Regions from separate parts of the Homo sapiens genome. Here all the other regions are linked to region 2. The links are contacts of gene promoters, found by promoter capture Hi-C in blood cells and fetal thymus (Javierre and others, 2016). All regions are on one chromosome and are shown on one strand. The core of a region is centred on a gene start or on the middle of the fragment in contact, and the rest is flanking DNA. Distances in the headings are between cores, read along the strand shown.

What was found. Contacts are between HindIII fragments. The CHiCAGO score rates a contact against its expected background, and 5 or more counts as called.
Region 1: a contact is called between a fragment that was not itself captured here and the fragment with the promoter of ENTPD3-AS1 in region 2, in 1 of 17 cell types (monocytes). The highest score is 7.5, in monocytes.
Region 3: the fragment with the promoter of NKTR here is called in contact with the fragment with the promoter of ENTPD3-AS1 in region 2 in 9 of 17 cell types (naive CD8 T cells, fetal thymus, monocytes and 6 more); the score reaches 16.5 in naive CD8 T cells.
Region 4: a contact is called between a fragment that was not itself captured here and the fragment with the promoter of ENTPD3-AS1 in region 2, in 1 of 17 cell types (activated CD4 T cells). The highest score is 5.2, in activated CD4 T cells.

The regions. Positions count from the first base shown.
Region 1 is chr3:42,505,551-42,511,956 of GRCh38, reverse strand. The region is part of intron 1 of VIPR1 (vasoactive intestinal peptide receptor 1); the gene reads right to left. Among named protein-coding and RNA genes, the nearest start is that of VIPR1, 6.1 kb to the right of the region's middle. RefSeq lists an enhancer at 4,306-4,600. The HindIII fragment of the contact is 5,312 bases long and covers 2,384-6,406 here.
Region 2 is chr3:40,452,058-40,458,833 of GRCh38, reverse strand. It overlaps ENTPD3-AS1 (ENTPD3, EIF1B and MYRIP antisense RNA 1), which reads left to right and starts at 5,526. Exons shown (of 4, transcript NR_040100.1): 1 at 5,526-5,712. RPL14 (ribosomal protein L14) reads right to left here and starts at 1,495. Exons shown (of 6, transcript NM_001034996.3): 1 at 1,360-1,495; 2 at 843-944; 3 at 98-192. The coding sequence starts at 1,362. RefSeq lists a silencer at 1,210-1,259 and enhancers at 1,402-1,696, 5,633-5,702, 5,723-5,792. The HindIII fragment of the contact is 7,917 bases long and covers 1-6,720 here.
Region 3 is chr3:42,595,223-42,602,123 of GRCh38, reverse strand. NKTR (natural killer cell triggering receptor) reads right to left here and starts at 1,438. Exons shown (of 17, transcript NM_005385.4): 1 at 1,346-1,438; 2 at 1,060-1,140. The coding sequence starts at 1,117. It overlaps SS18L2 (SS18 like 2), which reads right to left. Exons shown (of 3, transcript NM_001370300.1): 3 at 5,190-6,901. It also overlaps a transcript of SEC22C not described here. RefSeq lists a silencer at 1,135-1,344. The HindIII fragment of the contact is 13,164 bases long and covers 1-4,509 here.
Region 4 is chr3:42,621,178-42,627,793 of GRCh38, reverse strand. NKTR (natural killer cell triggering receptor) reads right to left here. Exons shown (of 17, transcript NM_005385.4): 6 at 6,278-6,365. It overlaps ZBTB47-AS1 (ZBTB47 and NKTR antisense RNA 1), which reads left to right. Exons shown (of 3, transcript NR_125400.1): 2 at 3,982-4,030. Among named protein-coding and RNA genes, the nearest start is that of NKTR, 24 kb to the right of the region's middle. The HindIII fragment of the contact is 1,847 bases long and covers 3,108-4,954 here.

The DNA.
Region 1 (6,406 bases), core at 3,790-6,289, 2.1 Mb before region 2:
TCTGTGGTTCCTCTTTGGGGTCATGTGCTTTCTCTCCTTCCCATAAGGGTTACTCAGGCTGAAATGCTCAAGACACTCTGTCTCAAGGGATTTGTGGCTGTTTCATCCTCAAGTATAGGGGGAATAGTGGCCAGGAAGATCTCAGAGGTGGCTTCTGGAAGAGGAATCTGGGTACTGGCTACCCTGCCTTGTGTCCCATCATTGGTCTGTCTTGCCTGTCTTGGAGCACATTTCTCACCAAGGTACCATCCCAACCCCATCTCCCACCAGCAACAGGGTTCTTTCTGCTTTCTGGCCCCTTCCCAGCGTCTCCTGATTCTCCTGTCCATTCTTATCTCTCATAACACTGTAACGTCAAAACAGGATGGATGGTAGCAGATATCTCTTGTTTCTGCCTTCCACCATCCTTTACTCTCTTCTGGTGCCATGTCCTCATCTGTGTCTGGGAAACAACCTCCTTCCCTACCTCTAGTTCATGGAGTTCTGATGAACCCTCTTCCAGGGGATTGACATGTGACCAAGGCTTAAGTCCATCAGAGCATTCCTGGCCACAGTGCCTGACACATGGCCTGAGTCAGGCTACTCAGAGCCAGGAGGCTCACTCCTGGGACTTTGGATTAAGTGATTAAGAAAGTGAATTTGGTTTTTCCCCACTGGACTGGAAACCTTAAAGGAAGCAAGGGCTCAAGCTTCTGCTGTCTTCTTGTTGACAAGTGGAACACACGGATAAAAACTATACAGCTGAAGGCAGAATAGAGAGATGGAGAAAAATCAGGTTCTCTTAATATTGTCTGGGTCTGTGAATGCAGCCATGCCTGAAACCAGCTCTACTGCTAGCAACATGAGCTGATGCCTTTCCTTTATGGCTTGGATCAGTTGAGTTTTCTGTTGGTCGCTGTAAACAAAAGTGTCCAGCCTTGCCCTCTGAGGACAAGATAATGGACGCCCTCACTTTCTGGGCCTTCTTAAGCCAGGACTGTGGCCATATAGTTTGCCAAGAAATATTTGTTTCCCAATCACCATGGGCGCCTAGGATTTCTGGCAGCTTCTGCTTGCGACTCTCTGAGGGTAGAAGAGTGTTGGGTCAACTTCTCCAGCCAACTCTGCCCCCTCAGCAGCACAGACACACAGCCCTTCCTTAGAGGCAGTTTGGAGAGAAAGGAGGGGTGGGTACCGAAGCCTGTGGTGTTTATGAAACAGTGGGTGTGGTCTGGAAGATGAGCTCTCTCTTTGTCACAATTTAGTTTAGTGTTGAGCCCTATCTGGGGAGGGGTAGAGGAAATGGAGACCCAAAGAGGGACCTGAGGTCACCCAGCAAATGCGCATTCCCAGATGGGACCTAAGTCTCTGACCGCTGGTCTGGACTGCATCAATCCTTCAACACAGCCTCGCCTTGGACCCTCTGGTCAACCATTGCCCTTTGAGGGACCGGGCCAGGGCAGCTCCCTCTAGTCCTTATCACTAAGGAATTCAGGCAGACTTTGGACTTCCTCTCCCACTTATTTATTTCCCTATTCTAAACATCCTCATTATCCCTCTGGACTTCAGGAACACAGAGAGAGTTGAAAAATTCCCTGGCTGAATATAGCCAAGTCTACTGATGTCAGGGAAGTGTTCCAGGGTGGGATATAGCTGGAGTCTGGGCTTCCTACAGAATGGGTATGCTGTACTCATTCTGTAGAGGTAGGTCATGGAGGATGTGCAAGTTAGACAATTAGAAGTGGAGTAAGAGCACCCCAGAAAGTAGAGCAGCGTGTGCACAGGCATGGAGGCATGAAAATGCCTAATACATGCAAGGCTGTGAGAAGCCTGGTGTAGCTGCAGCAAGGAGTTCTGGGGGCATCAGGAGACAAGTTGAGAGATGTAGACTGGGGTAGGATTGGGAAGGGCCTGGAATGCCAGTTTTCAAGTGTGAGCTTTCACTCCTAGGCCATGGGGGCCAACAGAGACTTGAAGCAGGAGACTGAGGATGGGGGATACACATTTTACAAAGATCCCTCAGGTTGCAGGTGGTGGGGCTGAAAGCTACTGCACCAGTCCAGGCAGGAACTGATGAAGCCTGGGCAGGACAGTGGGTATAAAGAGAGGGCACAGAGAGGAGGGGGCAGGTGGAATGAACAAGACTTGGTTAGTCCCTGTCTCCAACTAGACTCAGGATTCTCCTGCCAACTCCCTGTCATTCACCTCCCACATCCCGCTAGCCCCATGGCAGAGGACAGAAGAAGACCAGGATGGAGAAGATGCTGTGGACTTCTTCAGTCTTCTTCAGCCTGGGTCCCTTCTGGGCTTAGGAACTCCTGCCCCAAAGAAGGTGCTGAGAGCCCAGCCTGGACCAAAACTCTCTAGCCTCAGCTCAACGGCAGGGTCAGGCTGCCTTTAAGCTTACTTTTTGGAGCTCAGTCAAGCATAGGAATTGGTGAGGGGCTAGAGAGAAAGCCCTGCTTTTTCCTGTCCATGTGGGGTTCTCTGAGATCTGGAGCAAAGGCTAGGTGTGGTGATGGGGGTATGGGTGAAGATGCTGGGAGTTGTAGCTGTTAGATGCAAGGGGCTCTGAAAGACAGGGTGGGCCATGCTCAGGTTCGTAGGCCATGTTCAATCCCCTCAAGGGAAGCCTGAGACCACAGCTACTGCCTCGAATCAGAAGCCCCAGCCTCATCATCTGGGGCCAGAGAACTAGGGCAGGAGGAGCCAAGTAGCACAGCAGGAAGCATGAGTCCCTCCGAGGAGAAGCTGGTCTCTGAGAGGAGCACAGAATGCAGCAGGCTGGATAAGGTGAGGCAGGAGAAAGAACTGTCTGCAAATTGCCAAGCATGCAGAGCCTCCATGGATGATTTGTGCTTCTGAGGTTTGTCAAGAGGGCTATTTTATTTTTTTCCAGCCTGCAACTGTTAATGGAGGCAGGGGAATGGGGAGTAGAGGACAGGGGGCTCAGGAGTGGTTTCATTTACCCTCTCCCACATGACCCTAGCCCTTTACAGAAACCATCTCATATCTCACGACTTATTTACTCTACTCTGCCAGCCCCCTGCTGAAATCATGGGGTAAAAAAGAGACACAGGGGGAATGGAGGAGCCAGAGAGAAAGCAGTGTGATCACAGGCACACAGGACAGCAGCTCACCTTCCCATCCTTGCTGGCTTTTGCACGTGAGTGGGCGAGAACGTGCAGCCCTTGTAGTTGGGAGGCAAGAGGGGAGAGAGGAGAGAAAAGGTGGGAGGAGGAAGGGCAGAAAAGGAGTGGGTAAAGGACATAAGTTGGATCATGGGATCCAGGAGTCACAAAAGAAAGGAGAAACATGCTCCCAGCTTTGCAGAGAGCACTAAAGGAAATCAAAATAAGACTTCCCCTCATTGCAGGGCAGCCTGCTAGGGTGATGGGAATGTATAATAGTTTGACCTGGGCAGTGGTGACACAGGTGTACACATATGTGACAATTCACTGAGCTGTCAATTCAGATTTCTATATTTTACTAATTTTAAAAATATCTAAAGTCCCAGCGCAGCATGTGACACGCCGTCGCCCACCCTGGAAGTAGTAGCCCCTCTTCACGAGGTGGCAGAGCCTAGTTCAGACCACAGGTTCCAGAATGAGACTGTCTGCTGCTTCCTGGCTGGATGACTTGGGCAATTTACTCAACTTCATCTATAAAATGGGGACAATAACAATACCACCTACTTCTAGAATTGGGGTTGAGGGTCACATGTAAAAGACACCAGCCAGGCACCAGGGGGGTTAGCAGCGACTGCCAAAGCTCTAGTCCAGTCCTCATGCCAGGCTGCCCCTGCTGTCCACATCCAAGCCTAGCCACAGCCGTAGTGCCTTGCATAACCCCAGGTAGGCTGAAGGTCCTACCCACTGACAAGTGCCAGCCGTACCCACCAGAGGTCTCAAGTCTGCCAGTTACCTTCGCCCCGTACTGATTTCTCTTCCTTGTATTTTTACATCCCTTAGCCAACAGCCCAAAGCCTCCCCGCTGCAAATTCTTTTTTTTTTTTTTTTTTGCCAGCCTCACTTCCTCTTGGGGAAGGCTGAGCTCTGGTAGAAGAAGAGAATGAGAACTGCTGTGTGAGTGTTGATGGGGATGGGGAGGAAGAGGGGGAGACATAAGGATACAGGATTGTGCTTTGGGTAAGAAGAACTTTCCACATCTCAGAGTGATATCAGGACAAGGGCTCTCATAATTAGCAGAACCCAAGCACAGACACTTAGCTTGTTCCCATCTAAGGGTTCTTCTTGGAAGGTTTCTTTTGGGGGCATGAAGCCTTTATTTGCAGAGGAACACAGGCTAAGCATTTAGTTTAAATCCTCTGCTGCTTGTTCACGATCCTGGCCACACCTAGGGAACTGGAGTTTGCAGGACTCAGCTTATAAACACAGTGCCTGTGGGTGACGTTGGTGTTGGAGCCACCTGCAGAGGGCTGGACTCCAGCACAGGCAGCCACAAGGCTATGAGTCCTTAGTACATGGAGATTGGTTGGTGGCCTCTTCCCCCTCCTCTGGTGACCTGCTGTGCAGGAAGAACTTGTTTTGAAGTTAGGTAGTAGGAGGCACTTCCTGAGAGATAATGGGCCGCATGAGAGGGGCTGCACGAAAAGACTGGGTCCTCCCAGTGGAGGCTAGCCTGAGGCTCACTGCCAAGGCACCCTGCTTTCTCCCTGCCAGCTCGCTGGACAGTCCCGTCAGACACAGACATGAAACTCCTGCGAGAAGACCAAGCCCTGGATAATATCACCACTCATCCTGTGGCACTTCATTACATTCCGGCTGGGGATATTTGAATATTAGATATTAAGCAATTCCTGTCAATTTTGTTAGGTGTGTAATGACAGTATCATAGTTATATAGAAGAGTGTCCTTTGGTTTTAGAGATGCATTCTGAAATGATTTGGGGTAAAAGGTCAGGAGGTTTATAATTTACTTTAAAATACTTCAGCCCAAAAGCAAATGAAGCATATATTAATTGTTAGATGTTAACAATTGTCAAACCTCGGAATTGGGTATTTGCACGTTCATTATAATGTTGTCTCTGCTTGTTTAAAAATTTTCACAAAAAAAGTAAAAATTTAAAACACTATACACGTGGTGGAGAGATTAAACTGTTTTTTTCTTCTTCAGAAATACTTCTAAGGGGCCAGGCGTGGTGACTCATGCTTGTAATTCCAAGCACTTTGGGAGGCTGAGGCAGGTGGATCACCTGAAGCCAGGAGTTCAAGAGCAGCCTGGCCAACATGGCGAAACCCTGTCTCTACTAAAAATACAAAATTTAGCCAGGCATGGTGGCGGGAGCCTGTAATCTCAGCTCCTAGGGAGGCTGAGCCAGAAGAATCGCTTAAACCTGGAAGCTGGAGGTTGCAGTGAGCCAAGATCACACCACCACACTCCAGCCTGGGTGACAGAGCAAGACTCCATCTCAAAAAGAAAAAAAAGAAAAAAAGGAAATACTTCTAAGTTATGTGAGAGAGTACATACTGACATTTTCAATGGGTACAATAAAAATCATTTTGTGTTAAGAAGTCAGAGAGGGGAAGGCAGAATCTGGGGGTTGAACAGAAGGATTTAAGAAAGGGACTAGGCTTTACATAGTCCCCAGGCCCCATTCCCTGCTCCATGGCCAAAGGAGCCACAGTGAAGGGCCCAGCAATGGCAGAGTTGTGGCACGTGGCAGGTTAGAGCCCCTACCCTGGTCTCATGGCCCATGTTGGATTTCCACTGAGGCTGCCCACGTTGTGAAGGCCCATCTGCTCTGAGAGGCCCCATTGCCTACCTAGGCCTGGAGCCTTACCCCCAAAATGTTTTGGCCACCTAATGAGGAAACGTCCCCCATTCCCCAGGACTCCTGCTGCCCTGGGAACCTGTGGGAAGATGGGGGCCAGAAATAGCTGTATAAGTTTGCACAGGGCTCCCAAGCTGGGGACGTAGGAGAAGGGATGACAGTCACACAGTTCACATAGCCACCTTCACAACCTTTACCTCCTTCAAAGCTCACAGAAGTCCTGCTTGAAAGACAAACCCCCTTTCACAGAGACCCTGGTGCTCCAGGGGTAGATTATGTCCCACTCAGGAGGCAGAGTTGGCTCCAGCCTAACCCTCTCCTCCCACTTCTCCTGCACACTGGGCGGAGGCCTCTCACCTTCCCTTTTGTGGTGAGGAACCCGAGGCCCTTCCACAAAAGTTAAAGATGTTCCCAAGGTCAAGCCATTGCCATGGAGTGGAGTGAGGACCAGCTCTCCTGTTTCCAGCCTGGGCTCCCCAAGGATGTCCCACAAACCTCAGAGAAGGCATAGTCTTAGTGCACCAGGACAGGAGGGTAGAAACTTCCAAAAGGGCTCGCTTTTCCAGCATGGTACCCTGGGAGCCCTGGCCAGGCCTAACTGAGGTGGTAACCTCACTTGAGGAGGAGGCCTGAC
Region 2 (6,776 bases), core at 4,277-6,776:
TGGCTCTGAATCTTCCGTATTGTTTACTCCAAAACAAACTTTTACTAGCATAAACAAATCTGGGGATGGGAGGGAGGAGTGATTAGTGGACAGTTACCTGTGCGGAAACTTGAGGATGAAATCAGTGAGCTGCATGCACTTGAAAGGCATGGCCTGTCTCCTCACTTGAGTGCAAGGTCCATCGACCAAAGCCTAGAACACAAACATCAAGAACTTCAGTGCAAAATCTAACAGCAATTAAAATGGTCAGATGGTTCTGTAACATTACTTATCCGTTCAGGGCCATCAAACCCACACTACTATTTTAATAAATTGCTCAGAAAAGACAAGGATTGTCCTATCTGGGTTATATATATGTATGTCTTTTGCTCAACACAAACATTTCTCCACATCATTAAATGCTCCTTCTTAAACTATATAGTACCCCATAGAAACCAACCACATGTAATTTACAGGCAACTTTAGGACTCTGATCCCTGCTGATTTATAGTCAGTGGTCAACTCCTTAGTTTGCTTGTTTCAAATACACAGCAGTAAATACAAAAGTGCTTTCTACGTGCTGGATCTGTTCTAAACTCACTTTACGTATAGTAACTCATTTAAAACTAACCAACGTTTCAGCCTATAACTGGCTCTAGCTTAAGTGGCTAATACTGAAATTCAATACTAATAGCTAACTTCAGGCTGTGCTTAAAACCCGTACCATTACCTGTTTCCTCAATGGTAAAATAAAGCGACTACCCATAGCATCCTCATCTTACACAGCCATCGAGACAATTCATTATTGCCATCTGCAGGGCACATGTCCACTGCCATGTTTAGTAAAAAGTTGTGACACTTACCCTGTTCTGATCAATAACATCTACAATCGCGACCAATTTTCCGGCATGAGGTCCAAAGGAGACATAGGCCACCCGGCCAACCTCCACGAAGCGCCTGAACACCTAAAATTGGAGGAGAAAGGACAGTGAAACTTACTTAGAAATACTCGCTACATATGTCACCTTCTGCAGCTAAAGACAACATGGTTAAATTCAGCGAAAAAGAATGCTGCAGGGAACAAACGCCCGAGAGCCAGGCGCCAACCTGGATGGACGAAATCAGCAAACGCCTCAGTAGCTTAAGCCCGGTTCCCAACGCCCGCCAGCTCCCAGGTCCGCAAGGCCCACACGGCAGGACAAGGCTCTCGGACCACGAGCCGCATCAGCCATCCAGCTCCAGCGGCGGAGGCGCGCACGCGTGGCCCAAGGCGCGCCAGGCCTGCCGGGCCCTCCACGCGCTCGCCAGCGGCGAGTCCGGGAAGGGCGCGAGTCCGGGAAGGGCCCGATTCCGCTGCACAGCCGGCCCGGGGACCCTCACCATGCGCTTCCCGGGACCCTCTGGGAGCCGTTTGGCGCCTCAGCTTCCCAGCGGAGGTGGAGGTCGAGCGGCATGGTCGACGGCCCCGGAGCCCGCAACAGTAAGACTCACCATGTTGGCGGCGTTAGGCGAGAAGGAAGAAGACCCGCCCAACCCTGCGCATGTGTAGAAGAACGCACCGCCCCTGCGGTAACGAGTCACCGACGTGAGCACCGATTGGTTGGTGCGTGCGTGCGTGCGTGCGTACGCACGCGCTCGCAAGCTCACTGGGAAAACATGGCGGAGTCGGCTGGCGTTAAGTTGCTTTTTGGCAAAGTTGGGCGGCGAGATTGTTTTTGGTGATTTGGATTAGAAAGCTGCAGGAGGGTCATCGCTTAGTAATTTAGGGTTAAGAGTACAGAAGCTATGTCTTCCGTTGGTCGCATGCCATTTGAGTTCCTTTTTATTTCCTCGAGTTTTATTTGTTGGTTATTCATGGCTAGGTCTGTTCGCTCCTCACGTTCTCTCCTAATCTCAGTAACTTTGTTAACCTTTCATTTTCAAGTAATTCACAGTTACAGAAATATTGCTAAACTAGTACAAATAATTCCCACAAACCCTTCTAGATTCCACAAATGTTAACGTTTTGCATGTGCTATATCATTTGAAAGGAAATTGCCGACATGATGTCCTTCTATCGCTACATTTTTTTTTTTTTAAAGACGGAGTCTCGGTCTGTTGCCCAGGTTGGAGTGCAGTGGCGGGGGCTTGGCTCACCGCAACCTCCGCCTCCCGGGTTCAAGTGATTCTCCAGCCTCAGCCTCCCAAGTAGCCGGGACTACAGGCGCGCGCCACCATGGCCGGCTAATTTTTTTGCATTTTTAGTAGAGACAGGGTTTCACTATGTTGGCCAGGCTGGTCTCGAACTCCTGACCTCGTGATCTGCCTCCCTCAGCTTCCTAAAGTGCTGGGATTACAGGCGTGAGCCGCCGTGCCTGGCGTTACATTCTTTTATAGAGACAGGGTCTCCCTCAGTCGCTCAGGCTGGAGTGCAGTGGCGCGATCATGGTTCCCTGCAGCCTCTAACTTCTGAGTGAAGACGATCCTCTCGTCTCGGCCTTCCAAAGTGTTGGGATTACCGGCGTGAGCCACCATGCCCAGCCTATCTATACGTTCTTAAAATGTGTATTTCCTAACAACAGAGAGATTCTCTTATGTCATCAGTACACTTATCAAAATCAGGAAATTGATATTGCAATAGTACTATTATCTAACCTTCAGTCCTTATTCAAATTTATAAGTTGTTGCTCCTATGTTCCTTGGAGCAAATGGGAAAAAAAATTGTTTTTCCAGGCTCTTGATCTAATGGAGGATTACAAATTGCAATTATTTATCAGGTCTCTAGTCTTTAACTGATAGTTTTAGATTTAACTGTTAAATTTGTAACATGGGTTTGTTGGAGTTTTCCTCATTGGATTCAGATAGTGAATTTTTGGTAGAAATGCTATGTCCTTGGTGCATCACATCAGAATACATTCTCTCTCTCTTCACTCTCTCTCTCTCTATATATATACGCACACACAAACACTTTTTTTTTTCTTTCTTTTTTTGAGATGGACTCTCCCTCTGTCACCCAGGCTGGAGTGCAGTGGTGCGATCTCGGCTCACTGCCACCTCTGCCTCCCAGGTTCAAGCAGTTCTCTGCCTCCCGGGTTCAAGCAGTTCTCTGCCTCATCCTCCCAAGTACCTGGGATTACAGGTGCCTGCCACCACGCCCGGCTAATTTTTGTGTTTTAAGTAGAGACAGGGTTTCACCATTTTGGCCAGGCTAGTCTTGAACTCCTGACCTTGTGATTCACTTGCCTCAGCCTCCCAGAAGTGCTAGGATTACAAACGTGAGCCACTGTGCTTGGCCACACACATATACATTTTTTCGAAGAGATGGGGTCTGGCTGTGTTGCCCAGGCTGGAGTGCAGTAGCTATTCACAGGTCTGATTGTAGCCTGCTACAGCCTTGAACTCATGGGCTCAAGCAGTTCTGCTTCAGCCTCCAGAATAGTTGGGACTACAGGAATACACCACCACACATGGGTTCCCAATATTGTGGTGGTATTTTATTCTTTAGATTTTTACCCAGGCCAGTGCAGAGAGGTGTTACCTTTTATCACTTGATTAAGGTGATGATCTTTGCCATGACAGTTCCCAGATGTATTTCAAGCCTTTCCTCTAAGCTCTATGCCAGCATATCTTCCCTGAGACTGCTCTAGCAGCCTCCTAAATTCTGTCTTTAATCTGTTCTCTGCTCAGCAGTTAGAGGGATCTTTTAAGTAAGTAAATCAGATCACATTATTTCCTGTTTTTAACAGTTCGATTGCTTTTCATAATATTTGGAATAAAATCTCAACTTCTTACTCTGGCCTTGTATCATATGCTTTAATACCCAGATACACCTTATGCCATCCCTCCTTCATTGTGTTGAAGCCACACTGGTCTTGAATGGGCCAAGCTCTCTCCTCCTCCATGACCTTTATACATGGTGTCTCTCTTGCCAGGAATGGTCTACCCATTGTTAATACTCATCGTGTAGCAGTGCCAACTTATCTCTTGTATTTTTTCCTAGATATTTTTCTGAGAGTTAACCAGGCTACCACATAAAAAAAGGTTAAGTCCCCACCCTTCTTTTTCTAGCTCACCTTGTTTCCCTCAGAGTTATCACAATTGCAATTGTTTGACTTGTTTTGCTGCCCACGTAGGTGTTGTTTCGTTCCAGTTAGAATAAGTTCCATGAGGGCAGGACCTTTGCTGTCTTTTCTGTTTTATTTTCTCACCTTAGTCTGGTAAGGGGCTCAATAAATAGGTAGTGAATGAATCAGTCTTTAGGTCTTGTTGTCTTGCTTTATAATTTACAAAGCAAAAGATATGAATGAAGAAGAATGTTCATTTTAGCATTTTTTTTGCTACTATCTCCAAACTGGAAATTACCCAAAGGCCCATAAACAAGAGACTGGATAAATTGTGATAACAATCTATAGCAACGGAGTCTACAGCAACTACATGGAACAATGCGGATGAATTTCATAAATAACACTAACAAATAAGCTGACACAATATATCCTGTATGCTTTTATTTATATCAAATTCAAAACAGGCAAAACTAATCTACAGTTCTTATAAGTAATGATCATATTTACCTTTGGTGCAGGCAGCAGTGGCTAAAGGGGAAAAGGGGAGCTTCTGAGCTGCTGGCCATGTTGTTTCTTCATCTGGTGTTAACTACGGGAGTGTGTTATTATTTTTGTTTTAAATTTTTTTAGAGACGGGTCTTGCTATGTTGCCCAGGCTGATCTGGTACTCCTGGCCTCAAGCCATTCTCCTGCCTAAGCCTCCCGAGTAGCTGGGATTAGGGGCACGGGCCACCCCGCCTGGCTGAAGTGTTTGCTTGTGAAAATTCAGAGCCCTATCCATATGGTTTATGCGTTTTCTCACCAAATGTATGTTAACCTAAAAAGTTTTTTTTTAATGCAGTTTCCTGGCTGTACAACCAGAGAACTTTATTTGCAGGTCTGGTGAGGGGCAAGAATCTGCATATAAAAACAAGCTCTCAAACACACTTTGAACTTCCCCGAACACAATTTGAGAAACACTTTGGGACTCCCCCTACAGTTACAGAATTATTTTCTAAAGTACATTATCTTGTTATATCACTCCTGTTTAAAGTTGATTTTTATCCCCTATCTTACAGGATATAGTCCAAACTCCCTAGTCTGGCATTCAAGGCACTCCAAAATCTTACTCCCAAACACCTTCCTAGCTTTTTTCTCCGACCATTCTGCGTCTCTCATTCCTATTTCCCGCAGCATTTCATGCAGCTTGAGCCCCCTGTTTCCTAAAATGTGCTCCCCACAAGCATCTCGAGATCCCCATCCCAGGCAGCCCCAGGCAGTTTTTAAGTTTCTACCAAGCTCCACTATACTGGCAAGGCAACTTTCCCCAAGCAAGTCTTGTTTCCTTCGGAAGGTCGCAGGCGCCCAGGAATGAACAGGATAACTGCTAGTGGCTCCAGATGTCAGAAAACAGATGACCAGATCGAGCACGCGCAGATCTCTGGTTGGTCGGCTGTGTGCCTCCGGAAGGCCCGCCCTGCTCGTCCAATCACGGAGAGGGAGGGCACGTTGAGAGTGATGCCAGGAATCAAGATGGCCGCCTGGGACCGCTCTCAGCCCCTTCGGCCTCTACCTGAAGAGCCACGCCCCGTCTGCTACACCCAACTGATTGGTTCCTCAATCACAGAGAGGAAAGGCAACATGAGGATGACGTCAGTTACAAATATGGCGTTTTGGACGGGCTCGATAGTTTGCTTGGCCTCTACTCAAGGTGCGTCCGGACGTCCAATCACCAAGGGGCGCAGTCGGCTCTTAAATGTGGAGGCAGGGGCCTAGACACTCAGGCTTAGGGGATGTCAGCTGGTACTGTGTACGAGCTGTCCTGTAAACCGTCGCCCGTCCCCTGAAGCCGCGCCCCTCTTCTCTTGCTTGTTGCAAGGGACGGATGTGAAGGGCTGGGCGGGCGTCGAGCTTTGGGTTCTTGCAGTGGGTCATAGACCTGAGGGCACTAGTCCCGCGGCCCAGATGGGGGATGCGAGGGACAGTAGGAGCACGTCCACTTGTCCCACAGTCTCTGCGGTGTCACGAGGCCAGGACTGCCTGCCTGTAACCAGATTGGCCCCTGTATTTGTCAGCTTCAGCTGACTAGATATGTCTCAGTTTTGTTTGTTCAGACACTGGCGATGGGGGCGTCAGTTTAGCAGACAAAATATTTACCTGTAGCCCCAAAGAAAAAGAAACATAAGTCAGTACAAGAATCAAACCAAAAGCTGTGCAGAACCCTGACTTTCTTTCTTGTTCTTAATAACTAACCTTCCAGAGAAGTGACCTAACCCTAGTTATGACCAAATTGACATGGTAGCCATGTGCATAACTACCTGGCAACGTGGACAGGTGCATTTGTATTTAGGAGTGAAAAAATGTTTGTTGTATCAGTTTTTGAAATTTGCAATCTTAGGAACCCTGAAGCTGAGCAAGACTGTTCAAGCCCAGTCAGCCTAAGACCACCAGGGACAAACCTGTAGTCAGCAAAACCAGGTCTATCGATCTTTTTTAATGAGGGAGATTGCACACCAGAGACACCATGGGACATTTTACCAGGGGAAGGAAAATATAAAGTTACAGGATTTTGAGGAAGTGTAAAGTTTAGATGGAACTTAAATGAAGCAGGGTTTTAATAGCCTCAAAACAAAGCAGGACTGTGAAAAAGGGTCAACATCAGGCCTAGACTGCAGAGTGGACCCATTGTCCTGTTTTTTTGAAAACCTTTTCTGAAGCTTTGCAACTGGCTGCTTGTAAATTGAAGCTGTATCTCTGTGTTAAAGTGACTTAGGT
Region 3 (6,901 bases), core at 189-2,688, 2.1 Mb before region 2:
TGACTGTATACTACTCCTCACCTCAGGGCTGTGCTGTTTCCCTCTACCACGAATGCTCTTCTTAAATACGGCTCACTTCATCTCCTTCTGATACCTGCTTAAATCTCATCTTCTCAAAATGGCCTTGTCTGACCAACTTATTAAAATAGTATCCCAACTACAAGTCACTGTTATTTTTTTCCTAGTTGTCCGTCTTCCCCCCAATAGAATATAAACTATAAAAGGAAGAGGCCTTTGTTTTATGCGCTGCTCTATCTCCAGACCCTAGAACAGTAGCAGGCTCTCATAAGAATATGCAGAACAAGATGTTGCACAAAGACAACACATATATATATGTCTCCAATTAAAACTTTTGTCACGGATAACAAAAAAAGCTAAGAAAACAGTTTGAAACCCTGCACGCTCTGCTACTTAGAATGAAATAACTATGCTTTAGAAGGAAATGTTTCATTTAAAAAAAATACACTAACAAATGTCTGGATTCCCTAAAGACAAACATTAATGCTAAGTGCATGCATGCTGCAATTCTGCTGGTACAAAATGCTCTGGTTTATCACAAAAGATCTTCACTAAGCCATTTTCCCAGGAACCACGAAATTCTAGCTAAAGATTCTTAAGGAAAAATAGAGGCAAAATTAACATATTAGTGATATATCGTGATTAGGAAACACACAATATTTCCTACTAGTTGAAACTTCATAGCACCAAGCAAGATAACCGGAAATCGGATCGGGAGTGTCTGCCTCACGGAGACACTGGGAGAGAAAAAGTCCTCAAAGAACTGCACCTCCTTTTCTTGGCGCCAGGCTGGCTACGAGGACTCAGTCCGGAGATGCAGCGGGGTGTGTGGGGTTTGGCAGGAAGAGGCCCGGACTGCGAGTTAGGGGTGTGCCCAGGCCACCTTCCTCTCCCACTGATTTTCTCTCAAGAGAAAACGGAAAGTTGCCTGCGCCTCCTACCCGCTCCCAAAAAGGCCGGGGGAGGGTTGCTGAGGGTAGACCCCTCCCCTTCGCCAAGGCAGGCCTCGGCCCCAGCAGCGCTCCCCAGTTTCCAGCTCACCCGGCTCCCGGTTGATCTCGATGTCGAAGTGGCACTGCGGCCGGTCCTGCGCCCCCATCGCGACCGAGGTGGCGGCAAGAGCTGGGAGAGAGGGGGAGAAAAGCGGTCAGGGCAGGGGCGAGGGCGGGGGCGAGGGCAGGGGCGAGGGCGGGGCTGAGACGAAGTCCGCGCCACGGTGCCTCACGCCGGCCCGTCGCGACAGCGCAGGAGGCCAAGACGAGGCCCCCTCCCGCCCCGGGCCTCGCGGCTCCCACGCAGCGCGCACGCATGCGGGCGAGCTCTTCACCTGGCTGGCCTCCAGCCTGAGCGGGTCCCCGTGAGCAGAAGAGAAAGCACTGCCACTGCAGCCAAACCCCAACGCCGCTAACGGAACGCCGTCTCCTCCCCCAGGCCGGGCCTCCCAATGCCACGCTAAACCCCGCGAGAGTCGGGACAAATACCGCGAGAGTACAGTCTAGATGGGGGTGGTCAACCGAAGGTGGCGGCAGCGGGGGCGTACGCACGGGGGCGTACGCACGGGGGCGTGTCTGGGGAGCTCTCGAGGAGCCTCCAGCCAGCGCTCCTATACCTGCGCGTTCCCTGTTTGCCCCCCCCTTTGAAGTCAGTCGCCCAATCTGAAAGCCGTGGATGCGCCTGCGCCCTCCATCTCGTCAGGTGTGGCTGTGAGCGCCGCGCATTTTCCGATACCGCGAGACTTCTCTGTTTCCGAGCGCTGTGAAGGAACTGAGTGAATTGAGGCTTTGAGTTTTCGTTAGCCAAGACGTTGTGTTGCTCTGTGTTCTTTTTGGCCGGGAGTGGTTATGTCCGTGTCCTACTGTTAGGTCTTTTAGGCTGAAGAATGCGTTCCTTCCCGCTTTGGCACCAGCGTCACTGGCACCGTTTTTGTCCTGTGCTTACTGACCATTCTGCATCTTTTGTGAAGTTTCAGTTCCAGTCTTCTGCCCGTTTTTAAATCTGGTCCTTCGTGTTTAACAGTTCTGGATACAAATGTTTTGTTAGATATATGTATGCTCTGAATGAAAATCTTTTGTTACATAAATGATTGCGAAGTCTTTTTCCCAATCTGGGCCTGTCGTTTCATTGTTTTGACGTTTTTGGCAAAGAAGTTTTTAATTCTGATTAAGTCAATTGGTCAGTTTTATATTTTAATGGTTTGTGCTTTTCCTGTGCTAGGAAATCTCTGCCTACCTCAAGTTCTTGAAGATATTCTGTGTTCTCATATATGTTTTACATAGTCTTTAACGTGTAAGTCTATGATATGATCTAATATCATTAATTTTTGCTTATGTTGTCAAGTAAGTGTCAACATTTTCCTATTGGGATATACAGTCGTTCCATTACCGTTTGTTGAAAAGACTCTTTTTTTTTTTTTTGAGACGGAGTCTCGCTCTGTCGCCCAGGCTGGAGTGCAGTGGCGGGATCTCGGCTCACTGCAAGCTCCGCCTCCCGGGTTCACGCCATTCTCCTGCCTCAGCCTCCCAAGTAGCTGGGACTACAGGCGCCCGCCACTACGCCCGGCTAATTTTTTGTATTTTTAGTAGAGACGGGGTTTCACCGTTTTAGCCGGGATGGTCTCGATCTCCTGACCTCGTGATCCGCCCGCCTCGGCCTCCCAAAGTGCTGGGATTACAGGCGTGAGCCACCGCGCCCGGCCTGAAAAGACTCTTATACATTGAATTACCTTCGCCTTGTGACCATATATGTGTGGGTCTGTTTCTGGATTTTTGTTCCAATGATCTGTGTCTGAGTACCACACTATTTTATAAGTTTTTTTTTTAAACTATAAAATACACATTACATGGGCGGGCGTGGTGGCTCATGCCTGTAATCCCAGCACTTTGGGAGGCCGAGGCAGGCGGATCACGAGGTCAGGAGATCGAGACCATCCTGGCTAACACGGTGAAACCCTTTCTCTACTAAAAATACAAAAAATTAGCCGGGCGTGGTGGCGGTCGCCCGTAGTCCCAGCTACTCGGGAGGCTGAGGCAGAAGAATGGCGTGAACCTGGGAGGCAGAGCTTGCAGTGAGCCGAGATCGGTCCACTGCATTCCAGCCTGGGTGACAGAGCGAGACTCCGTCTCAAACAAAAAAAATCTATCTATAGATCTATAGATCTACAGATATCTAGATATCTATAGATCTATAGATATATATACACATTATGTGAAAGTTGCCATTTTAACCATTTTTAAGTGTACAGTTCGCTGGCATTAACTGTATTTCACACGGTTGTACAACCCTCAGTACCTCCCATCCGTCCACAGAACATTTTCCATCTTGCAAAACTGAAACTCTGTATTATTAAACAGTAACTCCCCATTTCCCTCTTTTCCCAAGTTCCTGGCAGCCACCCTTCTACTTTCTCTCTGTAAATTTGTCTACTCTAGTATTTGTCTACTCATATGTGAGTAAAATCATGTAATATTTGTTCTTGTAGGCTAGGTGCGGTGGCTCACACCTGTAATCCCTGCACTCTGGGAGGCTGAGGCGGGTGGATCACATGAGGTCAGGAGTTCGAGACCAGCCTGGCCAACATGATGAAACGCCGTCTCTACTAAAAATACAAAAAATTAGCAGGGCGTGGTGGCAGGCACCTGTAATCCCAGCTACTCAGGAGGCTGACGCAGGAGAATCACTTGAACCCGGGAGGCAGAGATTGCAGTGAGCCGAGATTGCGCCACTGCACTCCAGCCTGGGTGACAGTGCGAGACTCTGTCTCAAAAAAAAAAAAAAAAAAATTTGTTCTTTTGTAGCTGGGTGATTTCACTCAGCATGTCTTCCATTTCATCCATGTTGTAGCATGTCAGAATTTCCTTTTTTGAGGCTGAATAATATTCCATTGTATGTGTATATCATATTTTGTCTATCCATTCATATGTCAGTGGATATTTAGATTGCTTCTACCTTTTGGCTGTTGTAAATAGTACTGTTATGAATGTGGGTGTACAAATACCTCTTTGAAACCTGCTTTCAATTATTTTGGATATATGCCCAGAAATGGAATCACTGGATCATAAGCTAATTCCATTTAAGATTTTTCCAGGAATTACCATACTGTTTTCCATAGCTGCACTATTTTACATTTCCATCAGCAGTGCACAAAGTTTCCAATTTTTCCACATCATCACCAACACTTGTTATTTTTTGGTTTTCTTTATTGCCATCCTAATGGATGTGAAGTGGCACACTGTTTTAATTAATGTAGTTTTATAGTAAATTTGGAAATTGGGCTCACTTAGATTGGGTGTCCAATCTTTTGGTTTACCTGGGCCACATTGGAAGAATAATTGTCTTCAGCCATACATAAAATACACTAACACTAACAATAGCCAATGAGCTTAAAATTGCAACAAAATCTCATATTTCTTGAAAGTTTATGAGTTTGTGTTGGGCTGCACCCAAAGTTGTCCTGGGCCACATGTGGCCCCTGGGTGGCGGGTTGGACAAGCTTGACTTAGATCATTTCTGACCTGTTTCTGCACCTATGTCACCTTTTTTTTTTTTTTTTTGAGACAAAGTCTCGCTCCGTCGCCCAGGTTGGAGTGCAGTGGCACGATCTTGGCTCACTGCAACCTCTGCCTCCTGAGATCAAGCGATTCCCCTGCCTCAGCCTCCAGTGTAGCTGAGACTACAGGCACACGCCACCACACCTGGCTAATTTTTTTGTATTTTTAGTAGAGACAGGGTTTCACCATGTTGGTCAGGCTGGTCTCGATCTCCTGACCTTGTGATCTGCCCGCGTTGGCCTCCCAAAGTGCTGGGATTACAGGCATGAGTCACTGCACCCAGCCGTCCATGTCACCTTTTTAAAGTACAGTCAAACCTTTGGTACTTCCACACCATCACAGAAGTGCTGTCCTTTGTTAGAGCTTGCCCATTCTACCTCCCTGAGAGTCCAGTGTGTCTATTAGAGGAGCAGTCTGTAGGCTGAATTGAGAAGCTAGCGGTCTTGGGTCTGATTTTGCTGACAATTACAGACTTGAACAGTATGAAATGTACATGCCTTTCTGGAGATGAAATAGTTTGATAAAGCTAACTTTCATACATGGATTCATGAAAGGAAAGGATGGAGACCATTACCCAGCTTTGTAATTACCGTGTTTAGGACATCAGGCTTCAATGTAAATAGGTTTTAGAGCTCAGGAATGAAATATTTAATTTGGGATATACTTAAACAACTTTAAACCTAGAATTCATTCTTATCTTGACATTCCAGCAATTCTCTTCTTTCTGCCACTGGTTATGTGACCTGAGACAAATCACTTTGATCTCTCTGAAGTTTACTTTCTTCATCTGTAAAATAAATGAGATAAAATATCTCCTTTCTAAGGTTCTGCCTCTCTCAAAGATTATTTTATTCTGTCTTGTGATTTGAAATTATATTTTAGATGATTCGAAGATAAAAGTATGCAATTTGGTCTGTGATTAAGGTGAAGAAACTCCTGGGACAAGGCAGGCCTAGGGCTAGTATCAACCAAAATGACTGACACCTCCTCCATCTCTTCCAAGAGTGGTAGAAAGTTGGTATCCAAAGAGTTTACAAACTCAGGCTTAATTTGTCCATGATTTATCATGAAGAAGAACCACTGGTAGTACGAATTTTCAGGTAATGATTCTGGGGTTCAGCCTTTTAGAGTGTGATTATGCCAGCAATTAGAACTTCAGGGGATAGGACTCTGGAAAACCATCAGGAATGCTAGTGGGGAAACAGACAAAATAATTTTCTAGAAAACAGAAATGATCGGCTGGGCGCGGTGGCTTACGCCTGTAATCCCAGCACTCTAGGAGGCTGAGGCAGGTGGATCACCTGAGGTCGTGAGTACGAGACCAGCCTGACCAACATGGAGAAACCCCGTCTCTACTAAAAATACCAAAATTAGCCAGGCATGGTGCCACATGCCTGTAATCCCAGCTACTTGGGAGGCTGAGGCAGGAGAATCACTTGAACCCAGGAGGTAGAGGTTGCAGTGAGCCAAAATTGCACCACTGCACTCCGACAGAGCGAGATTCCGTCTCAAAAAAAAACAAAAACAAAAACAAAACAAAACAAAACCAAAAAAAAGAAGAAAAAGAAAAAAGAAAGAGCCAGAGCCCTCAGCACATTAGTGCTAACATAGATTAACATGTGCCCAGTTCTCAACCACGTTATCTCAGTCTCACAACCTCAGGAGGCAGATGCTATTTTCATTATCCTCACTTTAGAGGTGAGGAAACAGAGCTTTCAGAGGTTAAGGGATAGAGCTGGGATTCAAAATGAGTTATCTCTTCACTATTTACATGTATTTTACAGTTGCCCTAGGTTGCAACCCTTGACTCCAAAAAAAGGAGCAGGGACCTGGGCTTCTAATTTTGGATATACTTACAAGAATCCCTTTGCCTCATCTTTCAGATAAATCTCCAAGAGTGAAAGTTTTTTATAGAATACAGCTAATAAAGTCAGAAAGAATGATAAATTAGAAAATCCTCATTATGTAATCCCTAATGAATTACCACATCAAAGCTGGGTGGATCATAATTTAAGTGAAAGGCTGGTTGGGAACTTAAAAGTCAGGTCACTCCTTATGTGATGCAAAAGCAAGTACTTATCACCTTCTAATATATTCCTGCTAAAAATATTAGAACATGAGTCTGCATGAGCCTCTAGATCTACTAGTTTACAGGAAAAGTGGATGATAGTGGCACATAATTAACAACACTACAGAGATACAACTGTATGTAGAACACGAGAGAATTCTAGGGTAAACACCTAGTTATTTCAACAAATAAAGAAAAAAAGGAACTATTAAGTATTCTTTAAGTGACTTAAAGGAACATCAACAAAATACAACATGTGAATCTTATT
Region 4 (6,616 bases), core at 2,782-5,281, 2.2 Mb before region 2:
TAAATTTATATATGCTTATGAAAACATACCTAAAAAAGAAAAAACCACAAAGAACATTTCAAATTGTAAAACCTTTCAATATTTATGCATTTCCATTTTTCTCTTGTACTTAAAGACAGTGATTTTTCAGTTTTCCCGACCCCTGAATCTACTTTAAAAAACATGTGTGCAAGGTATTTAAGCCTTATAAATCTTAGAAATTGACAAGTGTCACTGCTACTCCAAAAACAATCTATAGTTTTATACCATTATCAGAGAACCTTTTGCCCTTATACAGAAATGACTAATTCCACACTGAAATGAGAACTAAAACCATACTATAAACTAATAACCCCACTCCCCCACCAGAAGATGTACAGGAACTTGGTGGAAACAAGCCACTGAAGTTAAAATATAGTTCCCAGGATTAACCATGAAAAATAAAATGCACTTGTTTTACATGTACTGCTGCTATACAGATAAAGCAGAAAGTTTTTTTTTTTCTTAAAATGTTTCAATGCACATAACAACAGAATTAAAGAGATAAAGGCAAAGAGAGAGAGAGCCTTAGAGTAATGAGACATTACCTTTGGAGCGCACGGTGTAACACTCTTTCTGTAAATTTTACACAAAAATGGCAAGAAATAAATTGTAATACACTTTTAAGACAAGACTGAATCTATGTTTTAATATCAATATAACTTTGAAATTAATTATTTTCAAGTTTTATGCAGAGCAAGAAAGCTTTTTTAAATGGAGGGCTCTAAATTTTCTTTCATATGGGATATTTACGTAGAGATGAATTATGCTTAAGAAAAGCATCGTGGCTAAGTGGGAATCTATTTAGATCCTTAATATTGTAACATAGAGTGCCAATAATAGCTATTAACATATTACATTTCCTTTCACAAATCCCAGAAATTAGCTAAGACAACATTTTCTCAAAAGAGAATAGTGTATCTTGCATACATACATAAATATAAAAATCTGAATGCCCAGGACCAGTTACTACCAGTTGAAAGCAAAAATTTCATTAGAAAAAAGTGAGTTAAGATCATCCAAAATAAAATTTCAAGGAACTTTTAACTAATTCACATCAAATAATTAAAGAACCTTTCATGCTTCTACATTTGAAACCTTTGTTTGGTGACGTATCACAACAGACTACTTTCAGGAGTTAATGAGCAAATGTTCGGACCCTAGTTACTGTTCAGTGATATTAGATACACATTGAAGTTAAGTCACTGAACATAATAATAAAGCAGCATTAACTACAATTTTAGGGACCTTCTCAGAGAATAAAAAGGCAAGAGAGATGAAAGCGTAAGTGCAGTCAAATCTTAGCCACAATATCTTCTTTTCCTGTCTAATCTCTGATTTTCCCCATTATCAAGATTTTTTTTTGGAGAACACACACTGACCAATTTTTATCTATATTTAAACAAATAAATCTATTACTACTCAGATCAAAATACTATTATACCATGAACAAAATGCTTTATAAGAGTTTTGAATGTAATAAATCTTGAAATATTTAAAAATAAGCTTAAAATTATCATAAAGGCATTGACAACATGAATAAGTCAAAAAAGAACATAATGTTTGAAATAATGTGGAGTTTTCAATGAATGTTGCAAAAAAAAAAAATAAGTGACTGTAGGTGTAAAGTAGTACAGAAGAGGGAAATAAAGATAACTTCTGTCCACTTTAGCTTTTAACATGCAATGCTTTCCCTTCAACTCCTGAAACTATCACACTGTCAGGGAAGAGGCACCAAATTGTACAGAATGACAACACTTGTATAAGGGTAATGGAAACTAACCAAGCCACTTGACAATGCTCTACCCATGTGTTCCAAAAGTCACCAAAATAGAAGTGCTTTCTAAAATTCAGCACTAATGTTAAGATAATACACACCAAACATTACTAGATAAAAAATTTCTTCCACATTGCTAGCACGTAAGTCACATAAACATTAAGTTATTAAGCCTGAATGTTAGGGATGACACTTGATATTCAGAGAATATGGTTTATGGCTAAGTTTCACGAACATCTTTGCTCATGAAAAAATCTGAAATTAACATATGAAGGTATTACCCCAAAAAAAGGAAGGAAAAAGCTAGAGCTTCTCAGGTTATTAACACTTACTAGCATTTCTTCTTACATAAATTTATGAATACGTGGGTAGAAAAAGCATTTCTACCCCGAATCTAGTTTTATTACCCAAAACATCAACACAGCTTTACAAACCCCTTAAAACCAACTACTCCTCAACTCTCCTTGCTCCACTACTTTGTAATAATCAGCACTTCTCTCCCATTCAGGTACTTGCAAGTCAGATTCTTAAATGACATAAAACATATTCTAAAACTTATGCCCCGCCCCCCCATTGCCCTATTTATGACTGTTAAAATGTAGCAAACATGTTTTGTTTAAAGTTCAAAGTTTGACTCTTCTATATTATCTTGTTTTCTTACATTGTTATAATTATTAATGACCACTGACAGTGGCCAGTGACAGGAACTGTTCTTGCAGGGTCTGCAGATCCCTACTCTATGGCTGCGCAGACTCATGTTCTAACAGCAGCTGATGAAGAGACTTCTGTTGCTCTTGATTTAAGATGAGCCCAATACTTCTTTAAGACATTTTTCAGACTAATGAAAACTAGGCAATTATGACTATTTCCATTAGGCAAGACAATGTTTGCACATAAATCATTCCACACATTCAGGAACTTACAACTACCCTACAAAATACCTTCTTCCTTTTACATCCATATTTTTATACCAATGTTTAAGAAAAACGAACTGAAGGTACATAGGAAACTAAAATCAAGGTTTCCTGACAGCTATATTAGTGTCCTATCCCAGAAGTTACTACAAAGCTATAAACTATTTACTCAATCTTTTTCATGACTATTTTATACAACATCTTTGTCTTTTTGATTAATGTATATAAAGACAAAAAAATTACAGCCAGAATTAATAAGCTATCAGTAACAGCAAAAGGGGAAAGAATGTTTCCCCAAATGTCATTTTGTTTTCCAGCAAAATGTTTGATGCTTCTAATCCTTAACTAAAATAAATTCAGAGCAGAGTGGTTAATAAAATTTTGAGCTTAAATAAGCTTAAATTTATAGTAAAGGCATTAATAATATGAATAAGTATGCAGCATTCTTTTTCTAGCTATCAGTTTCTTCCAGATTGTAAATAAAATTTCTATAACCTGGACTTTACATGACTTTTCAAGAATTTAGCATAATCTACAGAATGAAAAGGTTGGACTAGATAATCTCTAAATCCCTTTCCACTCTATGACTTTATAATTCCAGCTTTTATTGTGGTTTCTTCCTATTCTTTAACCTAAAAAATAAGAATACAAAGGACAAAATAAATACCAAATTAACTTGGTAACTTTAGTCCCAAATCTTTGAATTTCTTCAAAAATGTTCAAAATAAAACCACTGTTTCTTTAGTGATTCATGGGTATAGTGCCATATATCACTTCTTCCACATTTCTTGAGCAGTACTATTCCAAAAAGAATCAAGTTTTCTTCTATATAGACCCCCGAGAGCAAAATCATTATGACAAATACAGTACTAGAAATAAAGTTACTGTAAAAATTACAAATAGATTTATAGAAGAAAATCTGATTTTCATCATGTATATAATTGTTCCAGCCAAAGAAAGCAATATATGCAAAATTATGTTGAATAAAAATGACATATGCCTAAGGAAGGGGGAGTTTTTAGATGTGTAAGTAATGAAGACAGTAGTTAATGCACAAAACATAAGAATCCTTGAGGGATGTCTTGCAAATACCCATACTAACAGCACCAAATCTACTCCTTAGGAATTGCAAAGTAACAGATTTGTAACAAAAACTACAAAAACAATTTTGCAAGGATGTATTAAAAATCCTTATTGAGCCTATAAAGCAGGAACTATAAAGACAGTTCTTTTTATTTTACCACCATTCTTACACTATCCTTTCTTTTTCAGATTCCAGAACTGCCACTCAAAGTGCCCTATGAGGAGCTGTGGTAACAAGGTAAAAGGCAGGAGCCATCCTTTGGAAGCCATCAGCAAGCTCTGTGACCATCAGAGCTATTATCTGTGATCATATACATAACCTGAAGATAGCATATCATACTTTTTTTTAATACTTTCAACTCCAAAAGGCTTTGGGCTTGTAAAAACATAGTTTCAAAGATTTTTATTTTATCAGCCACCATCTCCATTTTTACCTATCCTTCCCATAAATGCAAGGATATGTTTTAGTTCTGAAACATGAAAGTTAATTTGATTTTATCCTGCAACTCTTGAGAACTGATCTTTCTAGCCAGCATAAAGAAAGTATACTGACACAAAAATCTTCAGAAAAAATATAGGAGGATTAAATACTCAATTACTTCCAGGATTGCTTACTCCTTTCCAAAGGGACTGCAAACCCCTTTCCAGAAGGAAATTTCAAACTAAAAAATTTTCTTTCAATCAGAAGTTCAGTGATTTTACTGCCATCTAAAGTAAATTAACTTTGAAAATAAGTATAAAAATTATAATTGTAATTTATTGATTCAAAATTTTGTATTTGGCATTCCTTCTCAAAAATTGTAGTCCAATATAAAATTAGGCCATGTGGAAAACAGTAAAGGCCTTTACTAGATATTCCTAGAAAACACTGAAGCAAGTACTAAATAAAATAAAAATAAGATGTTTTTGAAGGGAGAATCTCGTATACTGAATTTTAATTAGTTTATGTTTAACGATAGCATTTTTAATGAGTTTTAACTCTAACATTTTATGAACAAGCTAATGTATGTAACAATATCAAGAAGCTGCTGCTACTTGATAAATCAAATTTTAATTGTACTGATATAAAAAAGGAAATCTAAAAGAAACTTTAGAGCCCTCAAATGGTAGCTTCTTGACCAATGAATCATTACGTTTTTCATGTTCACAGTTCAGATAAGCTTAAAAATGGAAATGGGAAACCTCAACCAAAGGATAAACAATTTTTACATTAAGTTACTATTAAAAAGGCTTTCTGAAAATATTTCTTTCTACTCTGTATTGGCTCTTAAGAAGGTTAAGAATAGAAAATCACTCTGTTAAAGAAGAGTAATAACAAATAACCTATGGGATCAAAACAAGAGAACAACTGTTGTAGGTCTTTTACCTGTATAATTCTAAGCATAATCTTTTATCAGCTTTCCATTTTTAGGACATTCTTAGGAACAGAATGCCCCTTATCTGAACTTTATCAGATCATGTAGAAATATATTTTTCAGACAAATTTAACATTTGAGTTTTGTATGTCAGTAATATACTCCTTTAAAGACAGGGAAGCGCCATTCATACTCATTCATTCAGAAAGATGACAAAGAAAATGTTTTCAATAAATTATTAATGAAATATTTCTCCAACATACATAGGACAACTGAGATTCACTTCCAATCAAAAGCAATAACCCTCATGCTGGACAGTTATCTTTCACATTTTATATGATAGAATTATGATAAAAATAGGTTTTGAAGCAGCCTTAGATAAGAATATAACTAAAAGTATGCCAAAGGATTTATTTAGAATTTTCAGATAATAAAAAGGTAAGTTTTTGGTTGTGCAATGCACATCCATGTAAATATATTTGCTTTTTCAAAAGCAAATTTAGTATTCTTAAGTTTCCTGAGTGACAATCTCATAAATTTTGGTGGAAATGACAGCAACATTGGGTTATTTCAATTATGCATGGAGACCTCATAAAATGAGTTTTTTAAAATGCTCGCTCAACAGCAGGTCACCTATCTCTATACAACATCAGAAAATAATAGTACCTCTCTCAAAATTGCCTCAAAGAGCAACAGTAAGAGGAAAAAACAACCATGCAATGGTTTACTCAAACTGCTTTCCCTGTTGAGGGGGTACAGTAACTGAATACTCGTCTATGAACAATTTTTACATGTTCATCAATAGTTTATGTTCCAATCTAGTTTTGGTAAAGTCAGCACTCGAATTTGACAGGGGCTTAAATATGCCGTCATCTTTTCTGAAGATGACGGCATATTTTGAAAACAATGTATAAGTTTTAAATTTTTTAAGTCCCATTCTTCCAATTCAGGATATATGCTGAATGCTGAGGCAGTTGTTAGACCTTATAAGTTACTATGATATTAGAAATTAATAATAAAAATAAAGCTGACAGAATTTTAGCATTAAACTTGGTTTAACTATACCATCTTTCTTATGAACAGCGCTTCTCTGTTTAAGAAAAGCTCATCTCTGAATTATGCCTACTCACATGAAAAACTGGGAACCATTGGTATGTTTCCCTCGATTTGCCATTGATAAAAGGAACGCTCTGTCATGTTTGAGAATAAAGTTTTCATCTGTTTGAAGAAAACACAAATTTGTCAGTCTCCAATTATAAGTCACTTTAAAGTAATGTTCAAGTAATAAATAGAAAGCAAAAGATGAAATTCCTCTTCTGGTCAGTACAGATAACTTGACTGAACACTCAGAAAAGAAAAATTTAAGCTAATCAAATAACAAAAGCATAAAAAGGCCAAAAGATACTAATTAAAGCCTTGAGGAAAAGAACATATATTTAATACTTCACACAAACAGCCTTAGAACAGTC